Linked DNA regions of Homo sapiens: all the other regions are linked to region 1. The links are contacts of gene promoters, found by promoter capture Hi-C in human tissues and cell types (Jung and others, 2019). All regions are on one chromosome and are shown on one strand. Each heading gives the region's core, a stretch centred on a gene start or on the middle of the fragment in contact. The rest is flanking DNA. Distances are from core to core; before and after follow the strand shown. Region 1 holds the start of PTPRM (protein tyrosine phosphatase receptor type M). Region 2 has its middle 14 kb from the start of LRRC30. Region 3 overlaps PTPRM (protein tyrosine phosphatase receptor type M). Region 4 overlaps PTPRM (protein tyrosine phosphatase receptor type M).

What was found. Contacts are between HindIII fragments. The study calls those that stand out against the background at their distance.
Region 2: a fragment that was not itself captured here is called in contact with the fragment with the promoter of PTPRM in region 1 in 1 of the 25 tissues and cell types used here (H1 embryonic stem cells).
Region 3: a fragment that was not itself captured here is called in contact with the fragment with the promoter of PTPRM in region 1 in 3 of the 25 tissues and cell types used here (heart left ventricle, lymphoblastoid cells and spleen).
Region 4: a fragment that was not itself captured here is called in contact with the fragment with the promoter of PTPRM in region 1 in 4 of the 25 tissues and cell types used here (dorsolateral prefrontal cortex, heart left ventricle, mesenchymal stem cells and 1 more).

What each region holds. Positions count from the first base shown.
Region 1 is chr18:7,565,833-7,568,958 of GRCh38, forward strand. It overlaps PTPRM (protein tyrosine phosphatase receptor type M), which reads left to right and starts at 1,484. Exons shown (of 33, transcript NM_001105244.2): 1 at 1,484-2,059. The coding sequence starts at 1,987. RefSeq lists a silencer at 1,165-1,534. The HindIII fragment of the contact is 7,623 bases long and covers 1-3,126 here.
Region 2 is chr18:7,243,928-7,247,053 of GRCh38, forward strand. No RefSeq gene overlaps it. Among named protein-coding and RNA genes, the nearest start is that of LRRC30, 14 kb to the left of the region's middle. The HindIII fragment of the contact is 6,137 bases long and covers 1-3,126 here.
Region 3 is chr18:7,853,132-7,856,257 of GRCh38, forward strand. All of the region lies in intron 2 of PTPRM (protein tyrosine phosphatase receptor type M), which reads left to right. Among named protein-coding and RNA genes, the nearest start is that of PTPRM, 290 kb to the left of the region's middle. The HindIII fragment of the contact is 4,096 bases long and covers 1-3,126 here.
Region 4 is chr18:7,823,804-7,826,929 of GRCh38, forward strand. All of the region lies in intron 2 of PTPRM (protein tyrosine phosphatase receptor type M), which reads left to right. Among named protein-coding and RNA genes, the nearest start is that of PTPRM, 260 kb to the left of the region's middle. The HindIII fragment of the contact is 4,051 bases long and covers 1-3,126 here.

The DNA of each region.
Region 1 (3,126 bases), core at 234-2,733:
AGTGGCAGGACAATGTAAGCTCATATTAACAAGCAAATGATTAATATAGAGACTTCTAAAGAGCAGGTCTGGTAAGTATCTAGTAAGTGGACTTCCTGAAGTAAGAGGAGTGTTGGTTGCCACACTAAAGGCAAGTCTTCTAGTCCCCAAATTTGCCTTGGGAGGATGACAGCTGTATCTTTCTTGGTTCTGGTGTACAGTGGAGAACAGGGTCAAGATGAGTGTGGAATCCATTTATTTTTTTACGTGTTTATAAGCACTAGAAAGCAGTGAGCACTAAGCAGAGGACCCCTCTTGCGGAAAAAGTGCAGGAGAGCTCCTGGGTGCCTCTGTATCACCGGTTTGCCTTCTAGCCAGAATCATTGCTAGAACCCTGTCACTCAGTTACTTTGGTTCCTAATTTAACCTCTTCCCAAGCCTTCTATTGCGTTCAGTTAGCTAGGCCAGGAGCTTACAGCTGTCTGGTTGGTGCTGGCTCAATGTGCTTATTCCCTGGAAGATAGAAGGATCACTTACAAAAAAATTTACAATTAAAATAAAAAAATTATTTTTTGCTGAAGCATTGTAAGGTTTTTTTAATTCACTCAGACCCAAAATCGTAAAACTAAAATATTTCAAGACATTACTTGATTCACCCCCCACTTCTCTTTCTCCCCTGTTTCTCAGCACTTTGCACCAGATACAGAAACCACGGGTTATGTCCAAACCCTGGTTTTGGTGTGACCACCGCCTTCCGTGTACTGCCTGCGGCTCGCTTCGGGCCCACACGGGACACCGAGGCATGATGAGGACGCAGAACAGCAGAAGCGCGCCCTGCTTCCCGGGCGCCAGTGCTCGGGGCCAGCGGCGTGTACCCGGCGGGCCCGGCCGGGAGCGGGCTGGCGATCGCGGGGCTCGGCGCTCCCGGCTCCCGCGCCATCTCCCGGCGCCCGCCAACTTCGCTCCGCCCGCGGCGTAGAGAAGCTCGCAGCCCTCCGGAGCCTCAGCGATCTCCTGGCTCGCTTTTCCCGCAGCCGCCGAGCAGCGCAGGCCCGGCGACTCCGGGTGCAGCTGGCCCTGTGCGGTGACATCGCCGTCCGGCGCCAGGCTCGAAGCCGCCTGGCCGCGCCCGCGGGGTCGCAGGCCGCTGGTCCCGCCCGGCCGCGCTCACAAACTACTCGCGGCTCGTGACCCGGGACAAACTTCTGGCGGCGGCGCAGCCTCTTCCACAGTCACCCTCCCCAGAGCCAGCTACCAAAATAGAAGACGCGGCCGGGGCGAGGAGGTGGGCGGGGGGAGCCCGGTGGCCGCTCCTCCCCGCGCGGCTGACGCCCGCTTCGGCGGCGGTAGTGGCTGTGGCCGCGGGGCCGCCCCCAGCCGAGCTCCCGGAGGCGCTCGGGCGCGGGCCGGCGGGGCACGGGCGCTCACGCCCTCTAGCGGGCCGCGGCGGCGCCGGGCGGCCGTGACGTGAGCGCTCCCTTCAGCCGGCCTGCGGGGCACCGCCAGTCAGTCGGGGAGCAAGAGCCCCGCGCGCAGCCGGCGCGGGCTCGGTCATCGGCGCGCCGCCGCCCGGGGCTGGGCTTGGGGCTGCCTGTGGAGAGGCGGCGGGCGGAACGCGCGCGGCCACGGCCACGGCCACCGCCACGGCCACGGCCGGCAGCTCGGGTCCCGGGTCCCGGGCAGGGGAAGGGGAGAGGCGGCGAGCTCAGCAACCGGAACCGAGGGAAGATTTTGGCTCCGCGGGCTCGCCCTCCGCTCCCTCTGCCAGCGGCGCCAGACGCCGAGTGGGGCCAGGGACAGGGGAGGAGGACCCAGGACCCTGTGCCCGCGCCCCTGGAGCCGCTGGAGTTCGGACTTCTGCAACTGTTGGCACTTTGGGGGCTTGGCTTAGCGCTCTGCTGTTTACCCGTCTCTCCTCGCTGCCTCGGAACCAAAGCTCCCGGCCCCCTCCGCCCTCGCGCGCCCACCCACCGCCGCCGGGGAGCGGCCCGGCCCGCACTCAGCACCATGAGGGGACTTGGGACTTGCCTGGCGACTTTGGCCGGACTTTTGCTAACTGCGGCGGGCGAGACGTTCTCAGGTAAGCGGGACCGCCTCTGCCGCCCCCGAGGCGCGCGGGCCGGCGCGGGACGCCCGGGACGCCGACAGCTCCCTGGTGGTAGAGCCCTAAGGCTGGCGTCGGGGCCGGGCGGGGGGCGCGGCGGGCCGGACACCGCTTCTGCCTGTGAGCCGGGCGCTGGGCGAGGGGCCGTGGGGCTGGCAGGCACCCAGTCCTCGGGCGGGCGGAGCGGACGGACCCCGAGGGCGAGCTCCCCAGCCGGGACTGCCAGCTCGGCCGCCGTCCTTCCGCGGCCTGGGCTAGTGCTCAAGGTTGGGCGGCTTGCACTCTTGAGTCCCTGGCCGGCTGCAAAAGGAACAGCAGAAAACTTTGCTTGAAGTTCCCAGTTGCAGCCGCCGGGCCGCCTGGCGTAGGCGCTGCGCGGTCCCCGCCGACCCCGAGCAGCGGCCGGGCCCAGGCCGCTGGTGTTCGGCTGCGCCCGCAGCGATCGCCGGGAACTGGCGGCCGCTCCGGCGGCGGCGATCTCCCGGTGCCCTGCCCTCCCTGTCGCCCCCTGCCCGGCGCGGCTGGCGACCCCGGGAGGTCCCCGCGGTCGTGCAGCGTCTGCGGAGAGGCTGGGGGGAGTTCCTCGCCGGTCCCAGCGGTAGGGCTTGGCGGCCGCGGAGGGAAGCGGGCAGGTCCCCAGGCCCTGGCCACGGCCCTGCGCCCCGCTGGGCTCCCCCTCCCCACCCTCGTCCCCCTAGCGGAGCGCCGCGGCCAGCTGCAACTTGTTCATCCAGCCCGGCTGCCCGGGGGTCCCAGGTGGGAAGGAGAGGCACTGGCGGTGTGCGAGCAAGCGTGTGAGTGTGTGCGCGTGTGTGCCTGCACGCGCGCGCGGGGGCGTTCTAAGCCCAGAGGAACCCCTCACGGAGAGGATCTGTGGATCGGAGTCGGGGGTCCGGCGTGGGGGCGAACCCGGCACGCTGTCACAGGGGTTTACAACCAGGATGACCTTTATTACCTGGGTGACACAGGTGGATAGACGGCAAATGCTGGCCCATTTGCACACCTTCTTTCTAGTGTTTATTAGATTAGTTTCATTAAGGTCC
Region 2 (3,126 bases), core at 279-2,778, 320 kb before region 1:
AAACCAAAGAAAGAGTTCCACTGGCATGTATGTGTGCTTACTTTTTTCACATATTGATCAAATAATCTGATTGCTGTTTACATCTTGCTAATGCATACGAGGTCTTTTGAACAAATCTTGCACTCGTAATTTAAACTGCAGAGACAGCCACAGAATTTTATCTTCTCACTGGGAAACTATTTTCTCCATATGTGTTTTGATGATGACAGGCCTTTTTCCATCTTGCGGCTGTTCTTCCTTGGGGGAATAGAAATGTAAGGAATAATTTCTGATTTGATATTTGCTGTTCTACTCACGTACCACTGCAGTTTAAAAACTACCTACAAACTTGCCAACAATTTACTTTTAAAACTACACTTTGGGAAAACAAGAGGCAAAAAGGAAGAGAAGGAAGACTCTTAAAATAATACATTTGAGAATATATGTGAAATATTTGGAAGGATGTGATTCACTAATTCTCCTGGGTGCATAACATTGCATAAAGCTACATATATGGGGCTTGGTTAAGGCCATTTCTAAGCTAAAATTTTATAATTCTGCAGATAGGAAGTACCATTGTAAGCAAAAATGTATTCTTCTATATCTCACATAATTCAAAATTGTCATAGTTCATCACTATTCTAGAAAACAATGATGGGTGTTTCTGTTTACTAGTTAAAATGACACAGCCATAAGAAAGTAGCATAAACACAATTCAGAATTCACAGGGTTTATCGGCTTTGAAACTATAATTTTTAATATTTTTAAACTTAGAGGATTGACATTATTCTGAATTTTTTGCAAAATCAAGACTTAGTTAATATCACACTACTTGAAGTCTTTAAAACTCAAAATTTTATATAACGTAATGATACTGTATAATGCAGAGAAGTGTTAGTTTGATACCAAAGGAAATAAAAAATTGTACATTGGGGCTGGGCGTAGTGGCTCATTCCTGTAATCTCAGCACTTTGGGAGGCCGAGGATGGCGGATAATGAGGTCAGGAGTTCGAGACCATCCTGGCTAACATGGTGAAACCCTGTCTCTACTAAAAATACAAAAATTAGCCGGGCGTGGTGGTGCACGTCTGTAGTCCCAGCTACTTGGGAGGCTGAGGCAGGAGAATTGCTTGAACCTGGGAGGCGGAGGTTGCAGTGAGCCAAGATCACGCCACTGCACTTCAGCCTGTGTGACAGAGCAAGACTATCTCAAAAAAAAAAAAAAATTGCACATTGTGCACAATTCCATAGGTCAAAGGATGGCCAAACATTTATATTTCTTTCTTCTCTTAATATTACCAGGCTAATACCCATACAATAGTTGCAGACTCTAGACCTAGAACAAACAAATCTTAAAATTTGTCTTTTTTGTCATACATATCTTTTTAAAACATTTGTGCTCACTTTCAGAAACAAGAGGCTCACCTGGTGCCAATAACCAGCCCATTGATTTCTTCTTCTTTCTCCCTCAAACATGATCCTTCTCCCTTGTTCTCCATCTCAGTGAAAAGCACTTACATCTAGCCTGAACCCTGAGACTCATTCCAGCCATCTGCCTCACTCAATCTGCTCAGCTTACCTATCACCCAATCCTGAGGCTTTACCCCCAAAATCCTCTTCTCCGTCTCTTCTGCTGCTCCTTGGCCAAGCCACTACCATGCCTCCTCAATCTGGTCTCCCTACTTTCTTCCCTGGGCCTCCCTTTTAAATCTATCCCCCACACAGGAGCTGAGAGGTATTTAAAAATGCACATTGGATCATGTTCCACCAGTGCTTAAAGACTTTTAATATGTGCTTGCAATACAAGAAAAATCCTTACATTTGATCTACCAGCCCTTGCAGACCCTGGCTCCATCCAACTACTTCTTCATTTGCTGCACAACATTTTGTTCTCTCAGGAATGTACACACACACTGGCCTTCTAGCTCCTGAAGCCATGGGCCACTGGCCTAGCTCAGGACCTTCAAACACACGGTTCCCTCTCCATGCAATGATCTGCCTGGCCAAAGCCCACTCACCCTTCAGGTTTTAGCTGAAATAGACCTTCTCAGAAAACCTTTTACTTTTCCTTCATAGTACTTAACCACAATTGAAATGACACATATATGTGTGTCTATATGTATGTGTGTACCATCAAATGTAATTGAATTCATTATATAAATGTGTGTACAAACACACACACAGATAGATGTGTACCTTGTGTAATGTGTATCTCTCATGACAACAGGCAACATACCTACCCTATCTCACTGCTGCATTACCCAGCATATAACCTTCCTAGCATACATTAGGCACTTAATACATTCTATTGAATATATTCATATCTAATTATTAAGAATCATTAATTTCTAATTTGTTCCTTAGTTGAAATTCATTTTATCAATCGAATGCCAGGTGTGTACACCTGATTAAGGAGTGCCTTTAGTGCAAAGTTATGTTACATTAAAAAGTACTGTACTGAGAACCAAAGAATAAACATATGAAGCACTCATCACCTAACTTTAACACTAAGGGTGCATGCATAATTAAACCTCCAGTCATGAGTTCAATAAATAAGTGATTAGCTTGAGGACAGCACGGCCACCATTGGCAGTATCATCTCATTACTGTTTGGTAGAGGACATCATCATCTAGCCGCAGTTTAGCTACATGTATGTCTGAGTTAGTGGTTTGTGGAAGAAATAATAACAATAATGATTAAATAATGACAATTATGTAAGTATAAGTAATAGTTGTTGAGTACTTACCATGAGTCAGGTCCATTTAAATCTTACTAGATCTCCATTACATACTCTTTTTTTTTTTTGAGACTGAGTCTTGCTCTGTCGCCCAGGCTGGAGTGCAGTAGCATGATCTTGGCTCACTGCAAGCTCCGCCTCCCGGGTTCATGCCATTCTCCTGCCTCAGCCTCCGGAGTAGCTGGGACTACAGGCACCTGCCACCACGCCTGGCAATTTTTTTTTTTTGTATTTTTAGTAGAAATGGGGTTTCACCATGTTAGCCAGGATGGTCTCAATCTCCTGACTTCATGATTGGCCCACCTCAGCCTCCCAAAGTGCTGGGATTATAGGCATGAGCCACCGAGCCCAGCGTACATAGTTATTCTTACAGGTTGGTCATCCCTAATCCAAAAATCTGAAATCTGAA
Region 3 (3,126 bases), core at 427-2,926, 290 kb after region 1:
TCTAAAGTCAGAAAGAACAGATAATGTTCTAATGTTCTGTATGGACATTGGAAAAATATTGATACTGATTCCTTCTTTTTGCAGATTTCAAATTCAGACCATGTCATTTCTTTCCACAATCCCTTTCAAAGGAGGTTGGTGTTTTCTGTTATCCTTATGTGAGTTACTTAGTTGAGGAAGTGTAAATGTAGGGCTCAGCTTGAAGTAGGAGAGAAGAGACTTGGTCTCCCTTTTGCAGGTGGAGTTGGTGCTAGGTGTCCTCCCTTGGGAGCTTCAGGTAAAGTCTGGAATGGGTAGTAAGGCTGTTTGTTTCTCTGCTGTTAGCAGAAGTCTTACCCCAGAGTACAGTGGCTTCAGAAGTACCTGGAAAAATGAAAGCATACCAGGAAGAGTAAGAATCTCACCTTGCCTTGTTCTTTGGTATTTCACTCATGCATCAAAAATGTGAGCATCAGGAAAATTGCACTGGATTTCTGAATCTTCTCTTCTTCTCAAACAGTTATTTGTTGGCTATTAAGAGCATCTCCATTGATTAGAAGTGGTAGAGACATACTTGTGCCTTTGGAAAGGGGGAATAGAATGTGAACACAACCTATTCTTGAAAGAGCTTGAAATAATATTCTATACCAAGCTGATTCTCTTTGGAACTGCTGTTGTCCACCAAGATAAACAGCTTCAATCAGGGAGCAGTTTTTTCTAATCAGGTTTACAGCTTTGAACTTCAATGAAAACTGATTTTCTAAATTGTTAGTCAGTGGAATTATATTTTCAGTCTGGTTGTCTTTTCATTCAAAGAAGCTGAGCTAATGAGAGCAGGTGTTGGAGAGAAAATGAGCCATAAAATTCTCTGTATCTGTTGGACCTAGACTGCTGAATTGAGAGTTGCAGAATTGGCCATTTGTTAGAATGCATTTCAGGATTTCCCCCTGAAGTTTCACAAAACAGAAAATTTAAACAGCAATATTAGTTTTTATGTACCATAAGAGAATGAAGGAAAATAATTCCTTCAGCTAAAGGAAATGATGGACATAGTTGCTTTTGAAGAAGTGGTTGTCTACCATTTTCCAGTAATTGTCTTTCTTCTATCATGTTACCTCTGATTCTTATTGCTGAAATGTAGAAGAAATAAGAGCCTACAAGGGAAAGAGTTCTCTGAACTTGGAATTCTGACCTCATACTTCTTACCTCTCTTAGCTAAAGCAGAAATAATGAGGATCTAGTATATTACCCCTTTACACTTCTGCAAAGGTTCTTAACTTATGTAAGAATCAAGTCAATTTTCTATGTAAAATCTTGACAGGGATTGTCAGAAAAATTTAGTGTGGAATGAAATGGAGCCTAATTTCATTTTACTTGAAACTCCATTACAGATGGAAAGTTTGTAGTATAAGATACTGGCAGGTACTTGAAAATGCAGGTAGCAGAACAGAAATTCTTTGGCTTGCTCCCTAACCTTAAAATACTATTTAAAGATGGATCTTGTATCTGAAAGTGCACACACAAGATTGTTAGCAGTTGATCACCTCTGAGGCATGAAATTAAAGGGTTGAGAGAGTGGAAGACTTAATTTTTACTTTTTAAACTTTTGAAATGTTAGGAGTTTTTTTTTTTTTTTTTTACAACTGATATATGTTTTTAAAAATGGATTTTTAATGACCTAGAAGTTTTCTGTGTAAATGCATTGTTATATAAAGGGTATGGAAGAGAAGCTTCACTGCTTATTGCTTCATCCAGCCGACCTAGACTTTTGATCTTTGACAGATTTGTTTCCAAGCAAATAATTATAAATAAGTTATCATTTTACTGCATATCCTTGAAGGTTAGGTAGCATCTCCTACCCTCAGAAATGAGAATGCCAAGCAACCGCCCCAGGCAGATAAACATTTTATATTTAAAGGCTTCCAGGGGAGAATTTACCGCTCTATTTACTATGAGGATATTCTTGAATATATCTATTTTGAGTGACTCATGCTATAATGTAGGTGTTTTCTTCTCCTTCTCCCCTGGTGGAGGAGAACAGCTGCTTGCTAACCTTCTGTGTACCTACACTCTTACATTGTTATTATTAGAATGCTGTGCAGGGGGGTATCCACTTAAAGCTGGGTGTGACTGAGAAGTATTCCAGACATTATGTGACATACTGGCATGTAGTGATTAAGGAGACATGGTCTCACATAAAGACACCAGCATGGGCCTGTGGCTCAGGGGGCCTTGTGGCTTGGGAAGTGCCTCATTCCCATCTCCACTTAGCACTCCTCTATCTGATGGGATTGTTCCCCACCACAAAGCTGCTTTTGGCTCCTTCTCTTTGTGACTTCCATGGAACATGCCACCTACACAAAGAAGGAAGAAGAAAGAAGGCTGTGGTACCATCCTATTTGCAAAGACTCAGAAACTGACCTTCCTTTGAATTCCATTTCCACCCTCTACTAAATCTTAATTCTTCATTTGTTAAATGGAACTAATAGCACTGAACTCACCTTGCAGTTTGTGAGAACTAAGTAAGCTTTTTGTCAGTACAAGGAGTGTGGATGAGCTTCTTGGTAACTAAGCTCCCAAAAGACTTAGATGAAATGAAATTCCAGTTTATTATTTGGCAATGGAAAAATAGAGCCCTCCATCTGAGAAGACACTGTTTCCTCTGGCTAGCACATGAACTACATGGAGAGACATTTGTGTATCTTTGTGAACACAGATTCAGAGTAAGGAGAATTAATGGCATAATTCAGATGTTTGACGTTGTCAGGAATGTGGCTGAAAATAGTATCCCACAGCAAGTAGGTCACAGTAGAAAAAGCAGAAGGTGCCTGGGAATCAAACAGTCATCTGGGACAAGTTGCTTTTTCTCAGCTTCTGGAAAATGGGTATGATAACACTTGCTCATCAGCTTGGTTTAATTATGAGATAATTCAATGTGAAAAAGGCCCAACAAGGACTAGACTTTTTCATCTCCTTCCTATAAAACATTGAGCCATATCTGATTTGTAATTAGTGAAGTTAATGATCCAGCATTCTAGATTCCCTTCTATTTTCCATGGGAATGGAAGAGGCTTCTGAAGCCTGTTTTGTTCTTATCTTTGCTTGCTTATATCATGCTGTCCTTGAAAACCATAGTTACCTGTCTTG
Region 4 (3,126 bases), core at 396-2,895, 260 kb after region 1:
GCTCCTCAGCTTGCAGATGGCCTATTGTGGGACTTCACCTTGTGATCGTGTGAGTCAGTACTTCTTAATAAACTCCCCTTCATCTGTACATCTATCCTACTAGTTCTGTCCCTCTAGAGAACCCTGACTAATATACTTGGACAAAAGGGGCCCCAAGCCCCAACCTGCTCACTGGATGGATCTGTCTTTATTGGCCCCTTGCACTGGCTGTACAAGAGCCAAAGGAGTGAGTGCCCCCTTGTCCTTCCCTCTCTAACGTGCATATCTTCCATCCCCACTCCTAGGCCACTTTCACTGTCATCTCACAGACAAATCCCTGGTCTTCATCCGGGCCTCATTGTGGTCTCCCTTTCTAGTACCCCGAAGGTCAGAGCACCATTGTTCTTGCCTGAGCATTACCTGGACTCTGTTATGAGTTAGTCCCACTTTCCTGTGCTGCATTTGGGACATCACTGTTCAGAGAAAGCCTCTAGAGGAAGTAGGATCTCCCACTGTTCTGCGGGTGACATCAGTCAGGAGAGTGCGCACCAGTCATGGTGGGGACACATGAAACAACTCCGTGGGGTCTCAGGTGCACCAGGCAGCCCAAGAGCAGGTGGACGTGGTGATGTGGTTGGATTTTCCTGTGTGTGTGTGTGTGTGTTTTTTCCTCAGTAGCATTTTCTTTATTTGTAAGAAGAGATCTTTTAGCATTTTATAAAATTACTTTTATTGCTCGTTTTTTCCCCTTGTAACTTGAAGGGTTTCCTTCTCTCTTCTTTTTCTATTTACTTATTTTTCCTATTAGTAACTACTAGACTATTTCTATCAGCAAGGTACATTTTTAATATAGTTGTATTTTCTATTTTCCTGTCCAGTTACTAAGATTAAAAGCTTTGCTTTGCCCTTAATAATGGAACAAAACACCATCCAAACTGTGGTTAAAACATGGTTTTCTTCTGGGATGTGGTAAAACGAGAAAGCCCTCATCATCCCAGCATGCTTTGCCTAAGCTGACTTACAACAGAATTGTGCCCTGGATGTCAGTGCATGAACTCTGGCCCCAGGGAGGCTCTCTGGGCAGGCAGCGCTACTCAACATGGTGTCAGCTGCTTGCTGGGGCTCCCAGGATGCATGGAACCTCTATTGTATTTTCCAGACTTAAGCTTCTCTTCATGGATTTACACCAAATGCTTAAACATGTCTGTCTGTTTTTAAGATTTGGAGATATTGGTTTTCTCTTAGTTCAACTAGCATCAAGGCTTGCTGCGTTTCATGTGCAGGGCCATCAGTGCTACTGGGACCAGCATTTCTGTCCAGCAATTAAAGGAGGAAATTCCCTAGGAAGAAGTGGCCGGGAGCCAGGAGGCTGAACTAAATAGCATTCCAAATTAGTTGCAATTGTCCGAAAGAGGAAATTGCTAAGGCCCTGGTTCCCAAACTGTGGGCCAAGGCTCCCTGGAGTACTGGAACAACTACACCATGTTGTAAGTGTTCACGTTTTCAAGGGAAACACAGCTAGGTACCATGCAGAGGACTACTATGAGATTGCTTAGACTTCGCTATTTAATAAATGGAATGGATAGGTTGATTTTGCATAGGAGTACCATGAAAAAAATCACTGAAAGGTAAGAGCACTATGAACTGAGAAAGTTTGGCAACTTCTGCTCTAACGGTATAATGAAGGTTTTTGAAAAGCTGAGGATATAGCCAGGTGTTTGTGAGGGATGGAGGATAGGTATATAAAAGGATGTGAGGGAGGAGAAGACACAGGTTTGGAAGGTGGATAATTGGGCCAAAATGACTCTTAATTTACAAGGAATAGAGGTTGGCTGATCCCTGTGATGCCATGGGCTGGCAGCTCATTATGTTATCCCTGACATACAAGCCCCGAGGCTCCCATCCCCTAGAAGTAAGCACCACCCTAAGCCCCTCAGACCAAGCGTTTGCCTCTGTTTTTACCTTGGCATTTATTCATTCATGAAATATATTTTCAGTATCACCTGCATGCTAGGAGCTAGGGAGATGGTAGTAAGCAGAACAGATGGAAATTCCTGACGTCTTGAAGCTTATGTTTTTCTAGAATAATATCGAATGGGACATAGTTGGTGTTTCCTGTGTGCCTGGCATTGTTCTAGAAGCTTTCCATATATTAACTCATTTAATCCTCACCATATTTATTCCATAAGGATAGATAGGATTGCCATTTACATGTGTCTGGTGTTAACAGTGGCTCTCAGAGCACCTTGTTGCTTGTCCTCATTGGATGGCATCCCCGTCAACCTGATATTGGTCGAGAGCTCAGGTACAATAGCAGCGTTCAGAACCTCTCTGTGTCACTGAGTGAGGCTCTGTTAGGTGGTGTGAGCCTGCTCTGTGTTACCTCGCAGAAAGCTACACGCTGCATATTGACTAAGAAAACTTCTGTCCTAGCACATCTTCATCTCCATATGTGAGATTTATATTTCATAAAACTTATATATGATGAAGTATTTAAATTCAACAGAAGCTACATTCACAAAATGGTAAGCCTTGCTTTGGGAATGTCCCCTATTAACATGCCTTTCTAGGGCTTGCTCTTCCCGTACAGCAAGCTGAGTAGTACTGGCACTGCCACTCAAACAAGTTTCTGATCATAATGAAGAATGGCTGACTTATTAGTTGTGCTATCCTGGGATGTCAAGCATTGTTAAATTTGAAAATGTGAACTGGACATAGAAAAGTGGTTTATTTCATTTATCGTGTAGCTCAGTTGTTTCCTTGAAAAGCAGAAAGAAATTAAAGATGTTGAATATTTCATGGTTATAACAAATGAAACTCCCATGAAATAAAAGAGTTCACACTGTTACTTTATTTTCCAATAATGAAAGTACCATTTGTTCATCATGGAAAATACCGAAATTTATCAAACAAAATAAAAGTAACTCCCATCATATTATCCAAAGAAAACAACTTTTTGTTGTGTTTCCTTTTACCCTTTTTCTGGGCATAGATAAGCTTCCATTTTTTTAAATTAAAAACTTACTGTGGGCTAGATGCAGCGGCTCATGCCTGTAATCCCAGCACTTTGGGAGGCCCAGACAGGCAGATTGGTTGAGGCCAGGAGTTAGAGGCTAGCCTGGACAACATGGTTATATCCCGTCTCTA